4 separate regions of the Homo sapiens genome follow, and regions 2, 3 and 4 are each linked to region 1. Evidence: promoter capture Hi-C in 16 types of primary human blood cells and fetal thymus (Javierre and others, 2016). All regions are on one chromosome and are shown on one strand. The core of a region is centred on a gene start or on the middle of the fragment in contact, and the rest is flanking DNA. Distances in the headings are between cores, read along the strand shown.

Region 1 (2,700 bases), core at 168-2,667:
CCTACTTTCATTTTGAATTTATCCCTATTTCCCTATTTTTCCCCCTTTGTGTACAGATACGATCATTCTCCACCCTACCTTCCAGCACTTGCCCCTCTTCAACTACCACCTTCTCCATCCCTTGTTGAGAAAGCCTTCTCTCAACTTCTTGTTTATACTTAGATTCTTTTTTTCCTCACCTACAATTCCCACACTATTGAATAATTGTCTACTCCCACAGACCACATCATATCCCCTTGCCATCTTGCTTGTTGACAAGAGTGCATATGTGCCAGGCACTGTATGAGGCACCAAGGACACAAAATACATGATTCCTGTCCTCTATATTTAGGGTGAATTGTCAGAAGAAACTGGTATTACAAAGGTCAGTTAGAGAGTCATTGTGGTCAATCACTTATAAATCACAATACACTTTTTCTCTATTTTTAGTATTTTTCTATTACATATAAAAAACTACCTTCCATGAGAAACAATAGGATGGAGATTATTCAAGATATAGTGTGTCAAACTGAGAAATGAATACACAGAGTTAACGATTTGTTTGACCAGAGGCAAGAAAGCATTCACAGAATGCAAAGTGAAGTTAGACTTGCTGACTGAGTGCTTTGAAACTCCCGATTGAGAGGATGAACCTCATGCACAATTAGCGCCTTAAGGGAAGGTCTTGAGATGAAAGAAAAATGAAAATAGTTTTGTGGCCGCAGAATTTACTACCACTGGACGCAAGATGTCTAAAGTACTTTAAATGTGAACTCCAAGGGAGGTCAGAGATAAATTCGACTGCTAAAAATCAGATTTACAAAAGCAATATTCAACCATGTAGACTGGCAACTCCACTAGTGTTTGGAGCTCCCCATCCAGATGTACAACAAACTCTTGGAGACTTGGATGTGTTACACAGGGGGCCGGTCGGGTTTCCATTTAGGACCAGGAGATTATAATCACTTTATTTTAGCAACCTCCTTACTACAAGGCCAAAACTGACAGTCCTCTCTCCAGACCCTCGCGTCCGCCCTCCAGACTGTGCTTCCCGCGCCGGACAGGGAAGTGGGAGTGCGGACGACAATCCGCATCCTGCCAGCCAGACGTCACCAAGCTGTCTTCCAAGAGGCAGGCGGAGAGAGCTGACTTCCGATTGGGTCAGCCGAGGGGCACGGCTGGCTCCCTATTGGCTTACAGGAGGGGGCTAGAGAGAGGCGTGTCTCAACGTCACACCCGCCCCTAGTCTCCTTGCTGCTCAGGATTATGGGAGGGAAGGGAAGTCCAGGAGGGAAAAATGACCCGGAAAGACCTTTGCCGGCCTGGGCCAGCCCTCTTCCGGAGCTGATGTCTCCTCCCACCAACCAGGAGAGGTCCGCCCTAGGCCCCGCCCGTGCCGGGGGATCAGGTGATTGCGGGCCAACACGGTCACGTGACCGGGGCGCACCCGCCGATTGTGGCCATGGCGGCCGCAGTCTCTAGTGTGGTGAGACGAGTGGAAGAGCTCGGGGATCTGGCTCAGGCCCACATACAGCAACTTAGCGAAGCTGCCGGTGAAGATGGTGAGGGAGCGGAGGAGAGGGAGGCGGGCGGGGCAGACGGCGCTAAGGTACTGGCGCTCGATGGCTGTGAGGGCTAGAGGCTGAGGCCTGTGTTCCTTTGGGTCCCAGGCCGCAGGTGGTTACCCGAGGTCTGTCGCTTCTGAGCCCCTCTGCGCCATCGATTGCCCACTTCCCAGAACTCACAATGCCAAGGCGTTGTCTTCGAAAACCGCATTATTCAGAACCCATGGAAAATCTGTCTAGATCCGTGCTGGTGTAAACTGTCTCGGTAGCGATTGGAAGAAGGGCAGAATCTAAATAAAATACAGAAGTTTAAATAAATGGCTAAGATGAATGATAACACTCAAATTAGTTATGGTGGTTTGCATCCTGTAAAGATAAAAAGACATGTATAACAGTTCCACTTTTTCATTGCTGCGTTGTAATTTGCGTTTTACGTTTTGGATTCAAAACAACATTCTATAGAAGAGCTTTACATTGGTGTGTAGACTATTCTGCCCCATACATCATGCCAGTTCTCACAAGGGCTCTGTTAAGTATTGGCATACTTGTTTTGGAAAGGTCTAAGCTGTTAGGAAAAACTGGGCTAGGGAATTGCCTCAACCTTCTGAATTTAAGTCCAATTCTTTTCATTACGTCTCAGCTGCCTTTAGGTTCTACATTATTCCTTTTTGAGTTTGAGCAATTACTACAGATAGTTTTTAAAATTCTGTGGACTGACTCATATCATCGGACTCATAGGAAAACAGTGGTGGAACATTTTCTTAAGCGATTGAATAGTTGGTGAATTTGTTATTAAATAGGGTCTATGATGAAATGCCTTAGTTTCAGTGAATATTTTTTGCCAGATTATCATTTATCAGGAGTGTTTTGTTTTGTTTTGTTTTTAGAGGCAGAGTATCATTCTGTTGCTCAGGCTGGAGCCCCTCTAGTAGTGGGACAACAGGCGCACACCATCTCGCCCGGCTAACTTTGGCATATTTTGTAGAAACGGGGTTCACCATGTCATCCAGGTTGGTCCTGAACTCCTGGGCTCAAGCATTCCACCCGCTTTGGCTTCCCAAAGTGCTGGGATTACAGGCGTGAGCCACTGTGCCAGGCCAGGAGTGTGTTCTTTAAAGACCTACAGACCACCCTGAAGCCGACTTATATTTTGGTC
Region 2 (2,700 bases), core at 58-2,557, 1.0 Mb after region 1:
AGTGCCATGGCAATCCCCAAGAGTTACTCTGTATCTTCTGTAAGGTAGATAAACCCCCGGTCCACAAGCTCCTGCCTCTTTCCCAGATAACTAAAGAAATAGTCGACCCCTCATTTAGCATATAATCAAGAAATAGCCATAAAATAGCCAGCTAGCTGCCCTGTCCCTTGGTGCTACCCTGACTACGGGGGTAGCCTTCTTTTTGTTTCCTTAATACACTTGCTTTCACATTACTCTTTTGGCTTGCTCTTGAATTCTTTCTGGTACAAGCAAAGTATCCACTTGGCTTCCCTGGCTGAATGCCAATTCTGGGGGTATCCTTGCATCAACAGCACCACTGCCTTCAACCAATGCCCTGGAAGGAGCTCCTCACACCCCAGTGGGGACCCTCATGATGTTATTGTAAACTTGCTTGGGACTCTGCCTTCTAGATAGAGGCAACAGGAGCAAGAAGTTTCTATGTTGGAGATCATTCCTTGTTTAGTTCTTCCTCTCCAAAGTACTAGGAGCAAGAAGTCTATGATGGAGATCATTCCTTATTTAGTTCTTCTTCTCCAAAGTACCTCAAAGATTTCCAAATTATAAAAACTATCTTTGTGTAATCAAGAATATGCTAAGGAACTTTACTTCTAGATAGACTCAGAATTCATGGTAGATGGTAAATTTTGTTATATGTATTTTACCACAATAAAAATAAATAGAAAATAAAAGACAAGAAGGAAATGAAAGAATTGAGTGACTACCACTGCCCTGCTTCTCACTAACATCCCAAGTTGTCTTTGAGGACACACCTCTCCTCAAGCTTTTCTCTGCCTGGAGAACAAGATTGCAGTCTCTGCTCCAGGACTAGCAATGTGGTTTGGGGCAATAATAAACTATTAACCAGGGTTCCTCAAAAGAGCTTTCCCTCCACAGGTTAAGGAGTACCTTTTCTTTTTATCACTTAAACCACCCTATCACAGATTGAGTTTCGTCTAAGATGTTAGGGTTTTATGTTAATACCAGTAATTCCATCTTCTGTTACAATTTGCTTCTAGAATTAATATCACCACTATGCTTCCTATGATCTGATTAGGACCAGGCACTTGGCCAGAAAAGTGTAAAAACTCAAAAGCTGATGTCTCCTGCTGTGAGACTGGATGAAACACCTTTTCCCTTGTGTTCAGGAGCCCTTGGATTACACAATTCCATATTGCTTTCAGATTGGCCAGCCCAGAGGAAATCTTAGCAGATAATCTAACCTGGGTGTTGCACACAGAGGCCACCCTGAGGGAGCCAAAGCCAGGGCTGCATTCATAGTCCCTTTATCCCCTAGACCTTCAAAAGGTTTCAAATTGAAATCACGATCATGTCATCTAAGATAACAATTAATTTCTCTTTACAATTAATTGCCATTCAGGGATGTTGTGGTTTGAATATTTGTCCCTTCTGAAACTCATGTTGAAACTTAATCCCCAATGTAGCAATATTGAGAGGTAGGGCCTTTAAGCAGTGATTGGGTCTTGAGGGCTCTGCCCGTTTGATGTCTTAATCCATTTATGGATTAACGGTTAATTGGTTAATGGAATAATGGGTTATCAGAGGATTGGGATTGTGGTTTTATTTTTTTTTAAGTAGATTTTGAGACTTCAGAACAGAAAATGAGGATGATAAGATGGGAAGCCCCCTCCATATCCAAACCACAAAAACACTCTAACTCATCTTTCACCATCTGCTTATTTTTTATGACATGGATAATTGACATGTAATTAGTCTAATAATGAGTGCAAAGCAAACACAGCTCTAGTTCCACGTTCCAATAAGATGCAACATCTAAGCTTCTCTATACTGATACTTAGAACTGCCACTATGTGAAAAGATTGATGTAATCACAGCTAGACTAGATTAATGCTGTCATCTAGTTTATGGGTTTTGATTTCTAACATTTGAGGGGACAGAAAAGTGTAAAAGTCCCAAGTGTATTCTCTACTGCATGTTTTTCATCTCTGCCCAAGGATTTTGGTGTAAAGGCTGGAAACCTTTACACCAAATCTTTACACTAAAGTTGTGAAGACACATAAATCTTTCTCCTGGGATGCCCACAAGAAGGAATGAGTCTTAGTTGCTGCAGGACCTGAGATGGGCAGAGATTATGAGAGCCTCCCATACACTTGGTGTTCTGCACTGAATTGTGTTCCCCCAAAATTCATGATAATTTTGATTAACTAATCTCCAAGTGATGGTATTTGGAGATGGGGCCTTTGGGAGACAATTAAGTTTAGATGAGGTCATGAGGGTTGGGGTTTCATAATGGGATTAGTGCCCTTATGAGAAGAGGAAGAGATACCAGGTCCCTCTCCTTCTCTCCCTTTCTTCTCTTGCCCCTCTACCCACTTCTCTCTCTCCTTCTGTGCCATGTGAGAACACAGCTACAACATGGCCATTGGCATGACAGGAAGACAGCCCTCACCAGGAGCTGAATCACTGGCGCTTTCATCTTGGACTTCCAGATCCTGGGCAAGACTCACCAAGGCAGACATCTGTAGCTGCCTGGAATTGTCTGATCTGGAGTTGATGCTCTGGAACCCTGTGGTTGTTAACTCAGAAGGCACAAGGCTAGGGATCTTCTTTCAGTCCCCGTTAGTCTATCCCCACTCTTCATTTTCTCTTTTGTTTTTCAAGTAATGAATTTATTTTTCCAATTAATGTAGCCAGCTCATG
Region 3 (2,700 bases), core at 155-2,654, 1.1 Mb after region 1:
GGTGTGATCTCAGCTCACTGCAGCCTCTGCCTCCCGGGTTCAAGCTATTCTGAGGCCTCATATCTGGGAACCTGCCCCAATAGTCACATAGGTTCTTTTCTATTTTCCCTAAGCATCGGCCGGTTTGAGAAATAAAGGGACAGAGTACAAAAGAGAGAAATTCTAAAGCTGGGTGTCTAGGGGAGACCTCACATGTCAGTAGGTTCTGTGATGCCCCACAAGCTGTAAAACCAGCAAGTTTTTATTAGGGACTTTCGAAAGGGGAGGGAGTGTACGAATAGGGTGTGGGTCACAAAGATCACATACTTCACAAGGTAATAGAATATCACAAGGCAAATGGAGGCAGGGCGAGATCACAGGACCACAGGACCGGGGTGAAATTCAAATTGCTAATGAAGTTTTGGGCACCATTGTCATTGATAACATCTTATCAGGAGACAGGGTTTTGAGAGCAACTGGTCTGACCAAAATTTATTAGGCGGGAATTTCCCCTTCCTGATAAGCCTGGGAGCACTATGGGAGACTGGGGTTTATTTCATCCCTACAGTCTCGACCATAGAAGACGGCCACACCCAAGGGGGGCATCTATAGACCCACCCTCAGGTGCGTATTCTCTTTCCCAGGGATGTTCCTTGCTGAGAAAAAGAATTCAGCAATATTTCTTCCATTTGCTTTTGAAAGAAGAGAAATATGGCTCTGTTCCGCCTGGCTTTTTCCCAGCGGTCAGAGTTTAAGGTTATCTCTCTTGTTTCCTAAACATTGCTGTTATACTGTTCTTTTTTCAAGGTGCCCAGATTTCATACTGTTTAAACACACATGCTCTACAATTTGTGGAGTTAATGCAATTATCACAGGGTCCTGAGGCGACATACATTCTCCTCGGCTTACGAGATGACAGGATTAAGAGATTAAAGTAAAGACAGGCATAGGAAATCACAAGGGCATTGATTGGAGAAGAGATAAGTGTCCTTGAAATCTTCACAATTTATGTTTAGAGATTGCAGTAAAGATAGGCATAAGAAATTATAAAAGTATTAATTTGGGGAACTAATAAACGTCCATGAAATCTTCACAATCCACGTTCTTCTGCCATGGCTTCGGCCGGTCCCTCCTTTTGGGGTCCCTGACTTCCCGCTACAGCCTCAGCCTCCCAAGTAGCGGGGATTACAGGCACCAGCCACAATGCTCAGCAATTTTTTTGTATTTTTAGTAGAGAGGGGGTCTCGCCATTTTGTCCAGTCTGGTCTTGAACTCCTGACTTCTATATGATTGTATTTGTTTTTTCACAATGTAGTTCAATACATTGAAATGGTTGGGCAAGTGGCAAAATCATATTCCTCACTCCTCTGGTTTTTTATAAGGTTCAATTTATCATAAATACTTTCCACTTCTTGCCTCATCTTTTACTTCTCCTCACATATTGAGTGGTTCATGGCACAAAAATCATTATTTGTGACAGACACTGTGCCAACTGTATTTTGTGCTTTATCTGATTTCATTCTCAACTGAAAACTGCGGCAAGCACATGCTTTGTACTGGGCTTGCTTCTCATTTCCATTTTGTAGATACACACCCTCACTTAGGGAAGTATGAGTTTGTACAGCTCTGCCTGTGGCTGAATAGATAAATGTAATTTTACCATTCAGTGTTAAATCAACTTTTAGTGTAAATTTAAGGCCCATCTTCTAACATAGGGGTACGTGTGATTTTACTGTGTCCCTTCTCCCTAACACTCCAGTTCAAGATAGCAACCTAAATTCTGAGTTGATTATTCTGGACACACTCCCTCAAAATGCGACTGTAAGACACCAGAATACACCACCCCAGTATGCCAATATATCAATATACCTCTGGCGTATTGATTATTTCAGGCCAGGCATGGTGGCTCACACCTGTAATCCTAGTGCTTTGAGAGGCCAGGAGTTCATGAGCAGCCTGGGCATGTAGGGAGACCCATCTCTATAAAAATATTTTTAAAAGATTAGCTGGGCATGGTGGCATGTGCCTGTAGTCTTAGCTGCTGGGGAGGCTAAGGCAGGAGGATGGCTTGAGCCCAGGAGTTTGAAGTTGCAGTGAACTCTGATTGCACCACTGCATTCTAGCCTGGGTGACAGAGTAAGACGCTATCTCTTAAAAAACAAAACAAAACACTCACGCCTGTAATCCCAGCACATTGAGAGGCCAAGGTGGGCAGATCACTTGAGGTCAGGAGTTTGAGACCAGCCTGGCCAACATGGTGAAACCCCGTTTCTACTAAAAATACCAAAATGAGCCAGGCGTGGTGGCACGCAGCTGTAATCTCAGCTACTTGAGAGGCTGAGGTGGGAGAATTGTTTAAACCCAGGAGGCAGAGGTTGCAGTGAGCCAAGATCGCACCAAACCACTCCAGGCTGGGCAACAGAGCAAGACTCCATCTCAAACAAAACAAAACGAGATGAGAGAAAAACCTCAACCTGTACACCTCTTTATGACAGAACAACACAGAAAGAGAAAGACAAAGAAAAGACTACTCTAGGAGGAAATGGATGAAACAATATGATTCTTACCACAAAGTACCAGAAAGTACACCATAGTCAATACACCAGCACTGGTCACACAAATCCTTTTCTCCCATCAGTCAAAATTTTGGACAGGAAAAATGAACAGAGTGATATTTACTGTCTACTTGACCAAATTCCACAGAGAGGGGCCTGGAATCTG
Region 4 (2,700 bases), core at 100-2,599, 1.1 Mb before region 1:
TATTTTCAATTTTGTACTGTTGTAAACAATGTTGTAATGCAGATTCTTGTACATACATCTTCGGGCATTTGCTCAATTATTTCCTTAAGATAATTTCCTAGAACTGGAATTGCTGGGTTGAAGGATATGAAGTTTTATTTTTGTCTGTCTTCAACTTTATTTATTTATTGCTGTATATTGCCATATTGCCCACCAAATATCAATTAATAATTTACATTCTTGGCATCATAGTATAGTTCTCTGAGCAGGGAATACCTAGTCCAACCTGAAGTTCAAGAGCGACTTCTTGGAGGAGGTGACCCTGGGTCTGAGTCATGGTGAGAATTTATCAAGACTTCAAAAGAGCAGATAAATAATCCACAAGGACCCCGGATCAGAGAGTGCTCCGAGCTGGGTTGCCCCACTGTGCTTGTATCTGCACTCTCCAACACTAGGCATCATTGACATGTTAAAGCTTAGCCAAATAGAATTGTTCTTTGTCATTCTTTTTTTAACTTTTACTTATTCATTAGGATGATTTCATAATATATTTCCTGGTTTAGAGGAAACAGGAACAATGGCTACCGAGAGTACTCCCTCAGAGATCATAGAAAGAGAAAGAAAAAAGTTGCTTGAAATCCTTCAACATGATCCTGATTCTATCTTAGACACGTTAACTTCTCGGAGGCTGATTTCTGAGGAAGAGTATGAGACTCTGGAGAATGTTACAGATCTCCTGAAGAAAAGTCGGAAGCTGTTAATTTTGGTACAGAAAAAGGGAGAGGCGACCTGTCAGCATTTTCTCAAGTGTTTATTTAGTACTTTTCCACAGTCAGCTGCCATTTGCGGCTTAAGGCATGGTAAGTTGACTTTGTATACTTTTTGGGGTGAGAGGAAGGGGGCAGACTTTCTGAAAAAGAAAACAAAATGAAAGAAAATTGTTGCCTTTTATTTTTGTTAGTCTTTTTCTGGAGATAATTTTCATTGAAATATGAAATAGGGAAAAACTGGAATTTAAAAAGTTTCTGAAATTTAACATCTTATTGGTCTACTGAATCGATAATTTGTTTTTCAGACTGTACTCAAAACTTGAAGTTGTTTTAGTGCTAACAAACTGCTCATTATTCTGGCAGTAACATGCTAAAATCTCACAGTTGGAAGGAAAATACTTTAATAATAACACAATCCAGGGTTTGTTTTTCAAGTAGATGAATTCGTGGATATTTACAGTGCCAAGACCACAAGCTGTATCTTTCACTTAGTATAGCCGTTTTGAAAATACAAGGAAAATAATTTTTAACACATAGATGGCAAATCAGTAGTTTCATTTTTTTGGTGATAAGAATGCCAGCAGCAGCTGTTTTCTGGAGCAATTCCAGTGCTAATTCTTAAATGGTTCAAAGATAACTAGTAGTCCATGAAAAAGCAATTCTTCCAGTTATTTAGCAATTCTGTAAATTACTACTAGGACTAGGTCTAGCTCTTTTTCTAGGAATCTAAAAAAAAATTCAAAATTATTTTAAGGGATGTTAGAGAGGTAGAGGCTCAGATAAAAAGGTGAATGTTAGTGATACCTAATTTAGGACAAGATTTATATGCTTAGAAATTTTTCTTTTATTATTTCTAAAGCACACTATTCCAAATAGAGCCATTTGCTTACTGATTAGAAATTATTTGTGATCAGATTTCATTAGCAATGACCCCAAGAGACGTGAGTCTGTTGTGAGTCACAGTAAGTCCACAAGTAAACACTGTTCATATGATTCAAATTTTTCGTTTTATTCACTTACCCTGTAAGGTTGCTAGGAAGGACTCAAACTTTAAGCAAGACAGTGGTGTGATCTGATTTTTTTTTTTAGTGGAAAAAAGAAAGTTCTGAAAGTTGACATGTTGACATGCAAGTTATATAGGAGGTGTTAGGTATTCCTGTCCTCCAGTGAAATAAGAGGTGGCTGGGCGCTGTGGCTCACACCTGTAATCCCAGCACTTTGGGAGGCCGGGGCAGATGGATCACCTGAGGTCAGGAGTTTGAGACCAGCCTGACCAACATAGTGAAACACTGTCTCTACTAAAAATACAAAAATTAGCTGGGCATCATGGCGCATGCCTGTAATCCCAGCTACTTGGGAGACTGAGGCAGGGGAATCACCTGAACCCGGGAGGTTGAGGTTGCAGTGAGCCCAGATCGTGCCATTGCACTCCAGCCTCGGCAACAAGAGTGAAACTCTGTCTCAAAAAATAAATAAATAAATAAAAGGAGAGGGATGAAGCTTTGAGGCCTCAGGAACTCTAGCTGTTATACAGCTTCTTTTTCTTAATTGGGAAAAACAATTCTTTTCTTTGCAGAAGTTTTAAAACATGAGAATACAGTACCTCCTCAATCTATGGGGGCAAGCAGTAATTCAGAAGATGCTTTTTCTCCTGGAATAAAACAGCCTGAAGCCCCTGAGATCACAGTGTTCTTCAGTGAGAAGGAACACTTGGATTTGGAAACCTCTGAGTTTTTCAGGGACAAGAAAACTAGTTATAGGGAAACAGCTTTGTCTGCCAGGAAGAATGAGAAGGAATATGACACACCAGAAGTCACATTATCATATTCAGTTGAGAAAGTTGGATGTGAAGTTCCAGCAACTATTACATATATAAAAGATGGACAGAGATATGAGGAGCTAGATGATTCTTTATACTTAGGAAAAGAGGAATATCTAGGATCTGTTGACA

What was found. The method cuts DNA at HindIII sites, captures the fragments that hold promoters and counts their contacts. A CHiCAGO score of 5 or more calls a contact.
Region 2: a fragment that was not itself captured here is called in contact with the fragment with the promoter of RIMOC1 in region 1 in 9 of 17 cell types (neutrophils, M2 macrophages, M0 macrophages and 6 more); the score reaches 10.4 in neutrophils.
Region 3: a fragment that was not itself captured here is called in contact with the fragment with the promoter of RIMOC1 in region 1 in 2 of 17 cell types (erythroblasts and neutrophils); the score reaches 6.1 in erythroblasts.
Region 4: a contact is called between a fragment that was not itself captured here and the fragment with the promoter of RIMOC1 in region 1, in 1 of 17 cell types (erythroblasts). The highest score is 6.2, in erythroblasts.

What each region holds. Positions count from the first base shown.
Region 1 is chr5:41,902,927-41,905,626 of GRCh38, forward strand. RIMOC1 (RAB7A interacting MON1-CCZ1 complex subunit 1) reads left to right here and starts at 1,418. Exons shown (of 6, transcript NM_175921.6): 1 at 1,418-1,541. The coding sequence starts at 1,442. RefSeq lists enhancers at 851-990, 1,102-1,648, 1,401-1,520. The HindIII fragment of the contact is 10,560 bases long and covers 1-2,700 here.
Region 2 is chr5:42,904,819-42,907,518 of GRCh38, forward strand. No RefSeq gene overlaps it. Among named protein-coding and RNA genes, the nearest start is that of FLJ32255, 87 kb to the right of the region's middle. The HindIII fragment of the contact is 1,015 bases long and covers 801-1,815 here.
Region 3 is chr5:42,955,208-42,957,907 of GRCh38, forward strand. LOC105374745 (a long non-coding RNA gene) reads left to right here. Exons shown (of 3, transcript XR_925964.3): 1 at 1-2,700. Among named protein-coding and RNA genes, the nearest start is that of FLJ32255, 37 kb to the right of the region's middle. The HindIII fragment of the contact is 5,385 bases long and covers 1-2,700 here.
Region 4 is chr5:40,840,827-40,843,526 of GRCh38, forward strand. It overlaps CARD6 (caspase recruitment domain family member 6), which reads left to right and starts at 541. Exons shown (of 3, transcript NM_032587.4): 1 at 541-839; 2 at 2,326-2,700. The coding sequence starts at 557. The HindIII fragment of the contact is 1,795 bases long and covers 453-2,247 here.